Regions from separate parts of the Homo sapiens genome. Here region 1 is linked to region 2. Evidence: promoter capture Hi-C in human tissues and cell types (Jung and others, 2019). All regions are on one chromosome and are shown on one strand. Each heading gives the region's core, a stretch centred on a gene start or on the middle of the fragment in contact. The rest is flanking DNA. Distances are from core to core; before and after follow the strand shown.

Region 1 (6,626 bases), core at 3,050-5,549, 600 kb before region 2:
GATCCTGCTTCCCCATCTTCGCTGCCTGCAAGACAAGAGACATTAGAAAAGTTCCTGCTCTGAGCCTGATATGGAAAGAAAGTGGGCCAGCTGCACCTGGCGCGGTGGCTCACACCTGTAATCCCAGCACTTTGGGAGGCTGAGGCGGGTGGATCACTTGAGGTCAGGAATTCAAGACCAGCCTGACCAACATGGTGAAACCCCATCTCTACTAAAAATACAAAATTAGCCGGGCATGATGGCACATGCCTCTAATCCCAGCTACTTGGGGGGCTGAGGCATAAGAATCGCTTGAACCTGGGAGGCGGAGGTTGCAGTGAGCTGAGACCAAGCCATTGCACTCCAGCCTGGGCAACAAGAGTGAAACTATGTCTCAAAAGAAAAACAAAGAAAGTGGGCCAGCTGCTTGTTTTTGTAAATAAAAGTTCTTTGGAGAACGTCATCATGGTCACTTACTTACATGTTATTATATATTGCAGCTTTCATGCTATTATGGCAATGTTAAGTAGTTGCAACAGAGACCACATGGCCCACAGCCTTAAATACCATCTGACCCTTTAAGAAAAAGTTGGCTAATCTATGTCAGAGTATGCCACAACTTCATAGATGCCAAAAGCTGACAGTGAGGCCAAATTACTTATGGCAAACAGCAGGAACATCAGCATGGCAACCTGGGGGCCCCCTGCTCCCAAGTCCTATGAGTGACACAATGACCCCAGATGGTGCTGCACTCAAGGAGTTATGCCACAGCTTGGTGGAGCCCAGAGCCAAAGGCTCAGTACCCTTTTTAGCAAGCAGCAAATAAAGCCAGGCCCTTTCCACTGGGGAGGGAGAAATTATACTATCATCACACTATAGTCACTTTGGTCTACTTAATTGCTTCTGTGCTCAGTATCAGGAGACAGACTTTCTGGTTTGACATAGTAAGAACATGCAGGGATGCTTAGGACCCATGCAAGACTGTCCCAACAGCCAGTGCCCTTGCTAAATTGATTATTTCTAGGAGGCTTGTTATGTACATGATCACATCATCAGTAAATAAAGACATTTTTACTTCCTTCTCAATCTCTATACCTTCAATTTCTTTTTCTTGCCTTATTGCACTGGCCAGGACTGGCAGTGTAATGTTGACTATAAGTGGTGATGATGGATAGTCTTGTCTTGTTCCTAACCTCAGGGGAAGCGTTCAATATCTCACCATTAATATGGTGGCTATAGATTTTTTTTGTAGATACTCTTTATCAGATTAAGAAAGTCCCTTATTATCCTAGTTTGCTAAAAGGCTTATGATATATTTTATTAAGTGTGTTCTCTTAATCCGTTGAGAGGACTATATGATTTTTCTCCTTTATTCTGCTAATATGAATTACATTGATTTTCAGAGGTATGACCAACCATGTCTTCCTGGAAAAAATAAAAAACCCATTTGCTTATGAGACTGTACAGAAAAAACTTAACATAGCAGACCTGAGGCTGCTGTCTTTGGAGAGGCCCAACTGCAAGGTTGACCCTTGCCTGGCGTAAGGGAACTTGGCTTTTGGTAGTGTTCCCACCAGTTTAAAGTGGCTCACAGTGCCTAAACTGTACAAACAATGTGGCTTATGCTAAATACCTGTTCTCCTTCTCAGAGTCTGGAGTTTTGAAACATGTTAGGCAGAGGGTGCCTTCATGATCAGCTCCCAGTAAAAACCTTGGGGGCTGGGTCCAGTGGCTCATGCCTGTAATCCCAGCACTTTGGGAAGCTGAGGCAGGAGGATCAATAGAGCTCAGGAGTTCAAGACCAGCCTGGACAACACAGTGAGACCCTGTCTCTACCCAAACAAAAAAATTTAGCCAGGCATGGTGGTGCACACCTGTAGTCCCAGTTACTTCGGAGGCTGAGGCAGGAAGATTGCTTGAGCCCAAGAGGTAGAGGGAAGAGGCTGCAGTGAACCATAACTGTTTAAAAAAATAAAAATAAAAAAAATAAAACTTGGACCCTGAGTCTCAAGTGAGCTTTCCTAGTAGACAACATTGCACATATGTTATCAGAATTTGTTGCTGGAGGAATGATGAACGTCTTGTGTGATTCCCCCTGAGATAGACCTCTTGGAAGCATGCTGCTAGTTTCTCCTTGACTGTGCCTCATGTATCTTTTCCCTTTGTTGACCTTGCTTTGTATTTCACTGTAATAGATCAGAGGCATGAATACACCTGTATGCTGGGTCCCATAAGTCCTTATAGCAAATCATCCAAACTGGGTGTGATCTTGGAGACCCCTGACACAGATATGTTATCCTTTTTATATGTCACTGGATTTCATTTGCTAATTTTGTTCAGGTTTTACATATGTATCATGAGAGAGATTGGTCTGTAATTTAACTTTGTCAAGGACCTTGTCAAGGGTGGGTATTAAGGTTAAGGTGGCTTCATCCAATAAAGCGAAAGGTATTTCTTCTTTTTCTATTCTCCGGAAGAGATAGTGTAAGCTAGGTAATATTTCTTCTTCAAGTATTTGAAAGAATACACTGATGAAGCCATCTAAACCTAAATTTTTTTTTTGGTGGGGGGGAGTTTAAAATAATGAAATCCCTGTACTATATATAAGAACATTCAGATATTCTACTTCTCGAGTAAGGTTTGGGTGAATTTGTGTTTGCATAAACCTTGAATAAGGTTTGGGTAAATCATTTTGTATACATTTCCAGATGTATTGGTGTGAAGGTTTTCATAACATTCCTCAATTCTTTTTTTTTCTGTATTATAAGTCAGTAGTCAGGCTGGGCGCAGTGGCTCATACCTGTAATCCCAGCACTTTGGGAGGCCAAGGCAGGCGGATCACTTGAGGTCAGGAGTTCAAGACAGCTTGGCCAACATGGTGAAACCCCATTTGTGCTAAAAATACAAAAAAATTAGCCAGGTGTGGTGGTGCATGCCTGTAGTCCCAGCTATTTGGGAGGCTGAGGCAGGAGAATCGCTAGAACCCAGGAGGTGGAGGTTGCAGTGAGCCAAGATCATGCCACTGCACTCCAGCCTGGCAACAGAGCGAGACTCTGTCTAAAGAATAATAATAACTAATTAATTTTTAAAAATTAAAAAAGTCACCAGGCAATCCTTAAATATTACTTAATGGATGTAAGAACTGCAGTGATGTCCCTTTTCTTTCATATTTTTTTCTTCAATAGTTTTGATAGGTGTTTATCAATTTTATTAACGTTTTATTTTTGTTTTTTATTTTTTTTTATGAGACAGGGTCTCACTCTATCGCCCAGGCTGCAGTGCAGTGGCACGATCTTGGCTCACTGCAACCTCTGCCTCCCAGGCTCAAGCAATTCTCGTGCCTCAGCCTCCTAAGTAGCTGGGACTACAGGCATGCACCACCACACCTGGCTAATTTTTTTTTTTTTTTTTTTGAGACGGAGTCTTGCTCTGTCGCCCAGGCTGGAGTGAAGTGGTGCGATCTCGGCTGGCTGCAAGCTCCGCCTCCCAGGTTCACGCCCTTCTCCTGCCTCAGCCTCCCGAGTAGCCGACTACAGGCACCCGCCACCATGCCCAGCTAATTTTTTTTGCATTTTTAGTAGAGACGGGGTTTCACCGTGTTAGCCAGGATGGTCTCGATCTCCTGACCTCATGATCTGCCCGCCTCAGCCTCCCAAAGTGCTGGGATTACAGGTGTGAGCCACTGCTCCCGGCTTTTTTTTTTTGTATTTTTAGTAGAGACAGGGTTTTGTCATGTTGCCCAGGCTGGTCTCGAACTGGTGAGCTCAGGCAGTCCACCTGCCTCGACCTCCCAAAGTGCTAGGATTACAAGCATCAGCCACCATGCCTGGTTTCTTATTATTATTATTATTATTATTTTATTTTTTTGAGACAGAGTCTTGCTCTGTCACCCAGGCTAGAGTGCAGTGGTGTGATCTCGGCTCACTGCAGCCTCCGCCTCCTGGGTTCAAGCAGTTCTCCTGCTTCAGCCTCCCGAGTAGCTAGGATTACAGGCGCCCACCACTGCGCCCGGCTAATTTTTGTATTTTTAGTAGAGATGGGGTTTCACCATGTTGGCCAGGCTGGTCTCGAACTCCTGACCTCATGATCCACTCGCCTCGGCCTCCCAAAGTGCTAGGATTGCAGGTGTGAGCCACCGTGCCCAGCCTTATTAATTTTTTTAAAAACAGCTTTCGACTTTCTTTTTCTTCATCGTATAAAATTTGTTTTCTATTTTACAAATTTCTGCTCTTTATAATTTCCTTCTTCTTACTTTCTTTAGGTTTTTTGTTTTGTTTTGTTTTGTTTTTGTTTTTGTTTTTTGAGACAGAGTCTGACTCTGTTGCCCAGGCTGGAGTGCAGTGGTGCGATCTCAGCTCACTGCAGCCTCCACCTCCTGGGTTCAAAGGAATTCTCCTGTCTTAGCCTCCCAAGTAGCTGAGATTGCAGGTGTGTGCCACCACACCCAGATAATTTTTGTATTTTTAGTGGAGATGAGGTTTCACCATGTTGCCCCCAGGCTGATCTTGAACTCCTAACCTCAAGTGATCTACCCGCCTCAGCCTCCCAAAGTGCTGGGACTACAGGCATGAGCCACTGCGCCCAGCTGGGTTCAAAGTGTTTTCTAATTTCCCTTATGATTTCTTCTTTGACCCATGGGCTATTTATAAGTGTATTTTATTTTATTTATTATTTTATTTTATTTTATTTTATTTTATTTTATTTTATTTTATTTTATTTTATTTATTTTAAGACAGACTCTCTGTTGCCCACGCTGCGGTGCAATGGTGCGATCTCAGCTCACTGCCACCTGTGCCTTGCAGGCTCAAGCTATTCTCATGCATCAGCCTCCCGAGTAACTGGGGCTACAGGTGCGTGCCACCACGCCTGGCTAATTTTTGTATTTTTAGTAGAGGTGGGGTTTTGCCATGTTGCCCAAGCTGGTCTGGAATTCCTGAGCTCGAGTGACATGGTATAGGCGTGAACCACCGTGCCCAGCCTTATTTAATTTCTGAATATTTAGTGGTTTCCTAGTATGGCAGTTATCAACACTGCCTCAGCTCCAGATTCACTCTCAGTACCTGTTCTGTTCCATGATAACCGGATCGACGCTAAGCATTTATCCCGTACAGTGAGTACAGTGTTAAGCTTTGTCAGCAGAGGGCACTAGAGGGCTATTGCAGAAACAAAGAGGCTCTCCCGGGTTCCAGTGTGCAGCCTTCGGATTTTTCTAAGGAAACCATGGATGTCAACTATGACCGTGATTAGTTACAAAAATGATCAGTTACAAAAACGAGGACTGTAGCAGCGATGCATATTCTTCTTTGCTTCTTACATGCATGTGTTTATTTGTATGTACTGACCATGTCTTTTGCCTCCCTTTGTTATTTTATGTGCAAATTGTTGGAGGTCAACTTTACAATCTAGTTTTTAGGTAATAGACACAGGTAATAGTTTTTAGGTAATAGTTTTTAGGTAATAGGGATCACGACAAATCTGTGGAGTAATCTAGCCAGCTATGGATACAGTGACTGTTTGGACTGTGTGTCTTATCATTTGGGGGAAGGCTGAGAACTTCACTTTTAGAGAGGAGATATCTTGTTAGTAGGAATGTAGCTACTAAGGGAGTTCAAAATTTGTGTAAAGAGTGCATATGGTAGTGGAGTAGCTGGAAGAATGGTTTCTGCCAGTTACCTATTTTTTGCCTCTCAGCTTCATTATTTACCTACCCTTCGGTGTCTGTTAAGCGATAACTAGACTCGAAGCATTTCTCCCTACAATGAGTACAATGTTAGGCTTTGTCAGCAGAGGACGCTAGAAGGACATTGCAGGAAGGAAAGGGCTTGTCTTCTGGTTCCAGTGCACTCCAGCTAGGGGCCTTGCTCCATCGTCCATCAGCAGGGCACGCCTTGGGAGATCTGCTGGTGTTCCACTCCAGCTGCACACCCAAAGCCGGCACTCCCTTGGCAACTTTGCCGATCTGGTCTAGGCCCCGTGACCAACTTGCTGTGGACTCCTTGTCATGGTTGCCGCTTACTCCAGGCCTTCCACCTGGGGCAGCTCCCTAACTCTGTGCACCTGCCCCCTAGTCTTGGCTTACCTATGCCATGGATGGTTTTCCCCAAAGCCCTCCAGGCATGGACAACGTGCGGTCAAGGCTGTGCCCCAACTTCCTCTGTGCGTCTGCTCACCAATCTGAGTTCTTCTGCATCCCAGAGGGTTGATTCCCATCCTCCATATCCTGTGTGGACACCATGCACTCCAAGCACATGGGGCATTCCAGCTCTTTTGATGCATCTGTCTGACAGCTGGGGCTCACCTGCGACCTGGAAGGTTGTTTCCTAGGGGCCTCCCAATGCGGGTGCTATGTGCTCTGGGCAGGTGGTGTTGCTATGTGCTCTGGGCAGGTGGTGTCCCCATGTGCTCTAAGCACCTGCCTACCAGCCTTAGCTTGCTTTTGGCCTGGAGGGTTGTTTCTTGCCTGGCAACTGTGAAACAGCTCTGGCCTGGGCTAATCAGTGAACTTCACACTGCCCAGTGAGTGGCATGCAGTGAAGTCTGAACCCCTGCCTTGGGGGTGGGGACCCTACTGAGTTTGCCCTTCCTTGGGTACTTCCCTCTTTACTTCCTTATAATTCCTCTCTTATTATAGTTTAATACTTTTTTAC
Region 2 (7,011 bases), core at 241-2,740:
AAACAATGCCTGCAACTGACAGGGACTGGCGTATAGCAATAAATGTCAGCCACAGTTGCCACTGGCCTGTTGCGTGTCTAGAATCCCACCAGTGAGGCTCCACCTTGTCCTCGTCTGGTTCTCGGTTAAGACATGGTACACCCCATCCCTATCATCTGGAGTGGTGAGTTTATTGCCTCCATCTGCATCCTGCTTACAGGGGGAGAGGGCTGTGAGAGCGAGGCTCCACCTTGTCCTCGTCTGGTTCTTGGTTAAGACATGATACACCCTGTCCCTATCATCTGGAGTGGTGAGTTTATTGCCTCCATCCCCATCCTGCTTACAGGGGGAGAGGGCCGTGAGAGCTCTGGGGCCCTGGGGTGGGGGTAGGGGGTCGTGAGGGAAGAAAGGCACTGAGTGTATTGAGCTAGTGATCTGAGATCCAACACTGTCATTCGTGGATTTGTTTGTGGAGTTTCTGCACTGGACACTGCAGGGACCGAGGCAGGAGTGAGTAAGATGTGTCCATGGGAGGTCTGTGGCTGAGCAGGCAGAGGAAACGTGGCATGAATAATATGACCCTCATCAGACTGTGCAGTGGAGCCCTAGAGGACAGAGAGAGCTTCTCAGGGTGTGTGTGTGTGTGTGTGTGTGCGTGTGTGTGTGTGTGCATGTGTGTGCATGCATGTGCATGCATGTCAAGGACAGAAAGGCAGGAATTGAGAGGTGCTGAGTGACAAGAGTGTCACAACATGTGACAGGCAGGCTGGTGTTGGGGGTGGGGTGCCTTAGAGGATCAGCGTTTCAGTGAATGCCAGTTAGAAAACCACCTACGACTGTACTGAACCAGCCTCCTCCTGGTGCTTCCAGACAGTGTGCCTGGTGTAAAGAGAGCTCACCCACCAGCAGCTGGAAGGCCTGCAGGAAACAGAGGCCTCCGTCCAAGGAGGGAGTCAAGAATCTGGATTCTAGTCCTGCCCCCTCGTGGCCCTCGACAAGTCCCTTCTCCTCCCTGGGGCTCTGTTTTCTTGAACTGGTCTCTCTGTGTGTATGCATTTCCAGACTGCAAGAAAAGTGTCTGGGGCTCCTCCAGCAATAAGGGTCAGTAACTGGCAGCAGGATGGGGCTCCGCAGGGGAGAGGCCGACGGTGCCCCCTACTTCCCAGATCCCCTCTGCTGGGTGGGCCACCCATTCTCCAGCTGGTATAATTGTTCATTGCTAAAGGCTCACATCTCCTCCCTTCTGGGAGTTTAAGTAACACCGCTCCAACCCTACAGCCAACAACTGATTGGCTAGGGGTATAAGAGGCCGGTCCCCTGGCTTCAAGGGGGGACCAGGTCTGTACACCTGAGCAACCCCCCAACTCCACATGGAAACACAAAATCACTCCCCTCTGTTCCTGCCATGGGGGGACCACTCACCCCAGGACCTGGGACTGCAGCTCTGAGCTTCCAGCTGTGCTTTGCCCTCTTGCGCTGCCGGAGCTCCCCAGAGACAGCGCTGGGAAATCAGCACATCTTTACAACATTCGACTTTGGATCTTCTCCCTCCTGGACCCACGCCCTGCTTCATGCCCCGGTTGCATGGAAGCTGTCAAAGTCCTTCCCCCTCCCGCCAAACCCCGGCAGGTGAAAATCTTAGTGCCCTTCTTTATGTCTCTCCTTGACAGTTGTAAATTTCCTTTGGCAAGGGAAATGTTGATAATTTAATCTGTTTTCAGGGCATGACTGATGGAGTGAAAGTGGTTGTAATCGTCTTAGATCCTGGGAGTGGAGTAAGAAGTTGAACCTTTTGAAAGAGTTCTTTTAATTCTGGAAAATTTCAAGCACTCACAAAAGTAGAGAGAATGGTTCCATGACACCCCTGTGCCCATTCGCGAGCTACAGCCACCATCAGCAGCTCTTGGCCAATCTTATTCTCCCCCAGAAGTAAGCAAAACTCAGATATCTTCCCATTTTATTTGTAAGCATTTTAGTATTTATCTCTAAAAGATATGGACTCTTTAAAAAAAAAGTGTGACCACATGATCAGAACAAAAAAATTAAAACCGAGTCCTGGTGCTCACTGAGGTCTATTTACGCTCAGAGTTTAACCCTGCAGCCCCACAGAGCTCTGTTGAACATTTGGAAACTAGTCTTTTAAAGGGCCGGGCGGTGGCTCATGCCTGCAATCCCAGCTCTTTGGGAGACCAAAGTGGGAGGATCACTTGAGCCAAGAGCTTGAGACCAGCCTGGGCAACATAGCGAGACCTCATCTCTACAAAAATTCAAAAATTCAAAAATGAGCCAGGTGTCTTGGTCCCTGTCTATGGTTCCAGCTGCTCGAGAGGCTGAGGTGGGAGCATCACTTGAGTCCAGTGAGCTGTGATCACACCACTGCACCTCAGTCCGGGCAACACAGTGTGACCCTGTCTCAAAAAAAAAAAAAAAAAAAAAAGAGGAAAGGAAAAAAGAAACTACTTTCATAGAGCAGTGGTCCCCAACCGTTCTGGCACTGGGGACCAGTTTCGTGGAAGACAATTTTTCCATGGGCCGGGGTGGGGATGGGGGATGGTTCTGGGATGAAATTAGTCCACCTCAGATCATCAGGCATTCGATTCTCATGAGGGTACCACTTAGATCCCTTGCATGTGCAATTCATAATAGGGCCCGTTCTGCTTTGAGAATCTATTGCTGCGGCTGATCTGACAGGAGGCGGCACTCAGGTGGTAGGTCATGCTTGCCTGTTGCCCCTCACCTTCTGCTGTGAGGCCTGGTTCCTAACAGGCCACAGACTGGTATAGCTCCATGGCCTGGGGGTTGGGGACCCCTGTTGTGGGGGACAAGCTTAACCCTAGGAGTCAGAAAAACCTGTTCTTATCTAGTTTTTGGTACTTACCGGGTATCAAATAACTAGTCGGAGCTTCAGTTTCTGATTATCTCACAAATGTCTTGTTACTTTTGATTTGTTCAAATCAGGATCCAGGATCCAGGCATGGCCCACAAATTGCATCTGACAGAATCAGTTGCCACATCTTGTGCCCTGATCTTTCCATGAGCACGGTGCTGCTCTGGGAAGTGTGAAGGTCTTCCGTGAGGCTGTTCTGGTGGAGGAGGTGTGGAGTGGGCTCCAGTGACCCCCAGATCCCATGACCCCCAGATCCAGTGACCCCAGATCCAGCGACCCCCAGGTACCACAACCCCCAGATCCAGGGACCCCCAGATCCCACAACCCTCAGATCCTGTGACCCCCAGATCCCATGACCCCCAGATCCCACAACCCCCAGATCCCGTGACCCCCAGATCCTGTGACTCCCAGATCCTATGACCCCAGATCCAGTGACCCCCCCGATCCAGTGACCCCCAGATCCAGCAACCCCCAGATCCCACGACCCCCAGATCCAACAAACCCCAGATCCAGCAACCTCCAGATCCCACAACTCCCAGATCCAGCAACCCCCAGATCCCACAACTCCCAGATCCAGCAACCCCCAGATCCCACAACCCCCAGATCCAACAACCCTCAGATCCCACAACTCCCAGATCCAGCAACCCCCAGATCCTGTGACCCCCAGATCCAGCGACCCCCAGATCCAGCGACCCCTAGATCCCGCCTTGGGCTCTTCCTTTTCCATCTGGCTTCTCTCTCCACATCGCTCTGCTGAGGGTGGACAGGGAAGCGCGAGGCAGAGCCAGCGGCTGTACAGATAGTCCCTGATGCCAGGACTGACTGACTTTGACTTGCTGAGCACAGCATAGCACTTCAGAGCTGACTCTGCATCTGGGATGCCTGAGTTCAAATCTTGATTCTACCTCTTAATGTTGTGTGACCTTGGGCAAGTTATTTGACTTTGGTGGGCCTCAGTTTTCCCCTCTATAAAATGGGGATAATAGTACCCATCAAGTTGCTGGAGGGTTAAATGAGTTAGAATATGTAAAATGCTTAAAAGCAGCGCCTCACACGTGTCAGTGGCCGTGCCTAATTATTTTAGTTGCTGTGTGCTTCCGGGGTCGCTCGTGCTCAGCTGTCATGCATGTTCAATGTGGCATAGACTTCGATGTCACACACACAATCAGGCAAAAGGCCACTCACCCCTCTCAGACCTGCTGGACTATGCAGGCTTCCCCTGAGGGGTAGGGGGCCAGGCTGAGCAGCAGCCAGTAGCTTTGAGAGAGACCTGTTTCTTCTGAAGGCACTTGCCTGCCCACTGTAATGCTGAGACACGTGAGGCCAATAATCACTGTCATTGGTTGCCTTGCACCCGTTCATCACCCACGACTTTAGCTCCTCAAACATGGGGTGAGTGTTTTTCCAGGACCAGTGCTTTTTTGCTGAGTAGGAAGACAGCCCCCCACCCCCCTGATACCCTTGTTCATTAACTGATCCGTTCATTGATAAAACAGCTAATGAGCACTTACTTGGGCCAGGCGCTGTGTGACATGCTGGGGATCCAGGAGTGGGCAAGAGGCTGCCCCTGGCCTTGAGGAGCTCAGAATTTGTGGTAGTCAGAGCAATGGCACCTCAACAATGTCCACATCCCTAGAATCTGTGAATACGTTACCTTATGCAGTGAAAAGGGCTTTGCAGATGATTAAGTCAAAGTTGTTGATAGGGATAGATTATTCAGTGGGCCCAATGTATTCCCAAGCGGGAGGCAAGAGGGTCAGAGTGAGTGGAAGAGCTTGGCAGGTGGAGGCCAAGGTCCCAAGCCAAGCAAGGCAGGTGGCCTCTAGAAGCTGGAAAAGGCAAGGAAGCGGGGCCTCCCTGGAGCCTCCAGAAGGAACTCAGCCCTGCCGACACCTGGATTTTAGGACCTCTGACCTCAGAACTGTCTAATAATAAGTCTGTGTTATGTTAGGCCACTAAGTTCATGGTAATTTGTTACAGCAGCAATAGGGAAAGAATATGAAGTCCATTGAATAAGATGAACAGGGAGACAGGTAACTGTGCTGTGGACGGGTGAGTGATGTGATACTGAGATGTGGGTGTGGCGAGAGCCTGGAGGAGTTCCCCTAATCTAGAAGGGGTTGGGGGATGAGGCCAGATAAGGCTTCCTGGAGGAAGTGGTATCTAAATGAAGGTCTGAAGTGGGGTTGGGAGCTAAGCAGGACAAATAGGAGGGTTGGAAGCAGGCAGAGAGCAGCCTTCCAGGCAGATGGAGCTCACGGAGACTCAGGATGGCTCGGGGTCAAGTGTAAGTGGAGGGTGAGGAGGGATGGGGCTGGAGAGGTGAACTGCTACATCTCCAGGGCTTTGTAAGTGTTGCTAGAGCATTTGGACTTTAGCCCAAGGGCAAAGGAGAGCCTGAATAAGTTTAGGCAGAACAGTAACATGATGACTTTGTACTTTAGAAAAATCCCTCTGGCTGTCATCTAGTCAAGAGATGCATGGGGCAGGCTCAGAGCTGGGGACGTGGCAGGAGGCTGACGCCTGATGTAGGTGAAGGGTGACGTGGTTCAAAGGTGGTGTGGTTCAAAGATGCAGGTGAAAAGTGATGTGGCTCAAAGGAGGAGGATAAGGAGAGTGGACTCAGTTGAGAAACCAGAGCAAGGAGAATCAGTGGAGGATGATTCTGTGTGGCTTAGAGAGAGGGGAAACCAAGAATGATGCTTGGGTTCAGTCTTGGGTGGCCCAAAGTCTATAGGGACGTCAACTGACATCAGGAACACAGGAGGGGAAATGGCTTGAGTTGGAAGAGAAGATGTAAATTCCTTTTTGTGAGACAAGAAAGTAGATGCTGAGGCTGTCTCAGCAAAAGAGATCTGGGTGGAAGACAGTGATTTGAAAACTGTCAGGATGGTGATAGATGGCTAATGTGAGCTCCATGAGAACAGAGATCTTGGCTAATGTCTGGTGTCTCCAGAGCTTACACAGCACACACCCAATCAGCACTTGCTGAATAAAAGATGAAATGAACCTGAAGTGGTGGATGAGATCATGTAGAGAGTAGGTAGTGTACACAGAGGAAATCTATGGGTAGGCAACATTTAAGAAATGGAGAGAGCTATTATTAAAACAAGGATTTTTAAAAGCCTATTGATTTTGGTGACAAGGTCAATGCAATAACCTTACAGAGAGTGATTTCAATGGGTTGAGTGACAGTGAGGAAAATAAAGGAGAGGAGAAAAATTAACCTGCAGCTGAAGGGTTTTAGGGGGTATAGATAGGGCTTTTTAAACTGGGAGAAAATTAAATACATTGAATTTGCATTTTCAAAATTACAAATTTAAATGAGCAGAACTGTAACTGAGGCAGACAAATTCTAAGGCGGTCCCAATAACCCTTCCCTTTGAGTGTGGGTAGCACCTGTGACTTGCTTCTAACCAGTAACCTATTGCAAAGGTGATGGGGTGGCACTTCCATAATTATGTTGTTATATAAATCTTCATCCTGCTAGTCAACTTGCTATAGGGATCACTCCCCAGCTGGTTTCAAACAAGTAAATGTCCATGTTATGAGGCTCCCTTGGCAAGGAGCTTAGCACAGCCTCTAGGGGCTGAGGGTAATGACAGTCAGAAAGAAGCTATGGCCCTCAGTCCCAGAGTTTCAAGAAAATGAATTCTGCCATCAACCTGAGTGAGCTTGGAAGTGGATTCTTCACCAGTTGAGTCTCCAGATAAGAGTGCAGCCCAGCCGCCATCTTGAGTGCAGCTTTGTGAAGCCCTAACCAGGGGACCCAACCAAGATGCACCTGTATCTGACCACAGAAATCGTGAGGTAATATATATGTGTGTGGCTTTAAGCCATTAAGTGTGTGGTCATTTATTGTGCAGAAATAGATAGCTAATATAGTAACTTTTTAATTTATTTTTTTCCCACTTAAAAAAATGGAGGCAACAACATACAGTAAAGTGCACAGGTGTGTCCAATTTGGTTAATTTTTATCTATGTATACACTCATGCAGCCATAACTCAGATCAAGATATGAAGATCTGCACTGCCCCAGGAGGCTACCTCACACTCCCCTCCCCTGCTGCTCCCAAGGGCCAACAACTGTGCTGACTTCTACTACCATTAGTGTATCTAAACCGTTCTTGAAATTCCTATCACTG

Evidence for each region. The method cuts DNA at HindIII sites, captures the fragments that hold promoters and counts their contacts. A contact is called where the count stands out against the background at its distance.
Region 1: a contact is called between a fragment that was not itself captured here and the fragment with the promoter of MS4A10 in region 2, in 1 of the 25 tissues and cell types used here (pancreas).

The regions. Positions count from the first base shown.
Region 1 is chr11:61,384,246-61,390,871 of GRCh38, reverse strand. No RefSeq gene overlaps it. Among named protein-coding and RNA genes, the nearest start is that of TMEM216, 5.0 kb to the left of the region's middle. RefSeq lists a silencer at 5,049-5,208. The HindIII fragment of the contact is 9,589 bases long and covers 1-6,626 here.
Region 2 is chr11:60,779,812-60,786,822 of GRCh38, reverse strand. MS4A10 (membrane spanning 4-domains A10) reads right to left here and starts at 1,490. Exons shown (of 8, transcript NM_206893.4): 1 at 1,402-1,490. The HindIII fragment of the contact is 17,691 bases long and covers 1-5,484 here.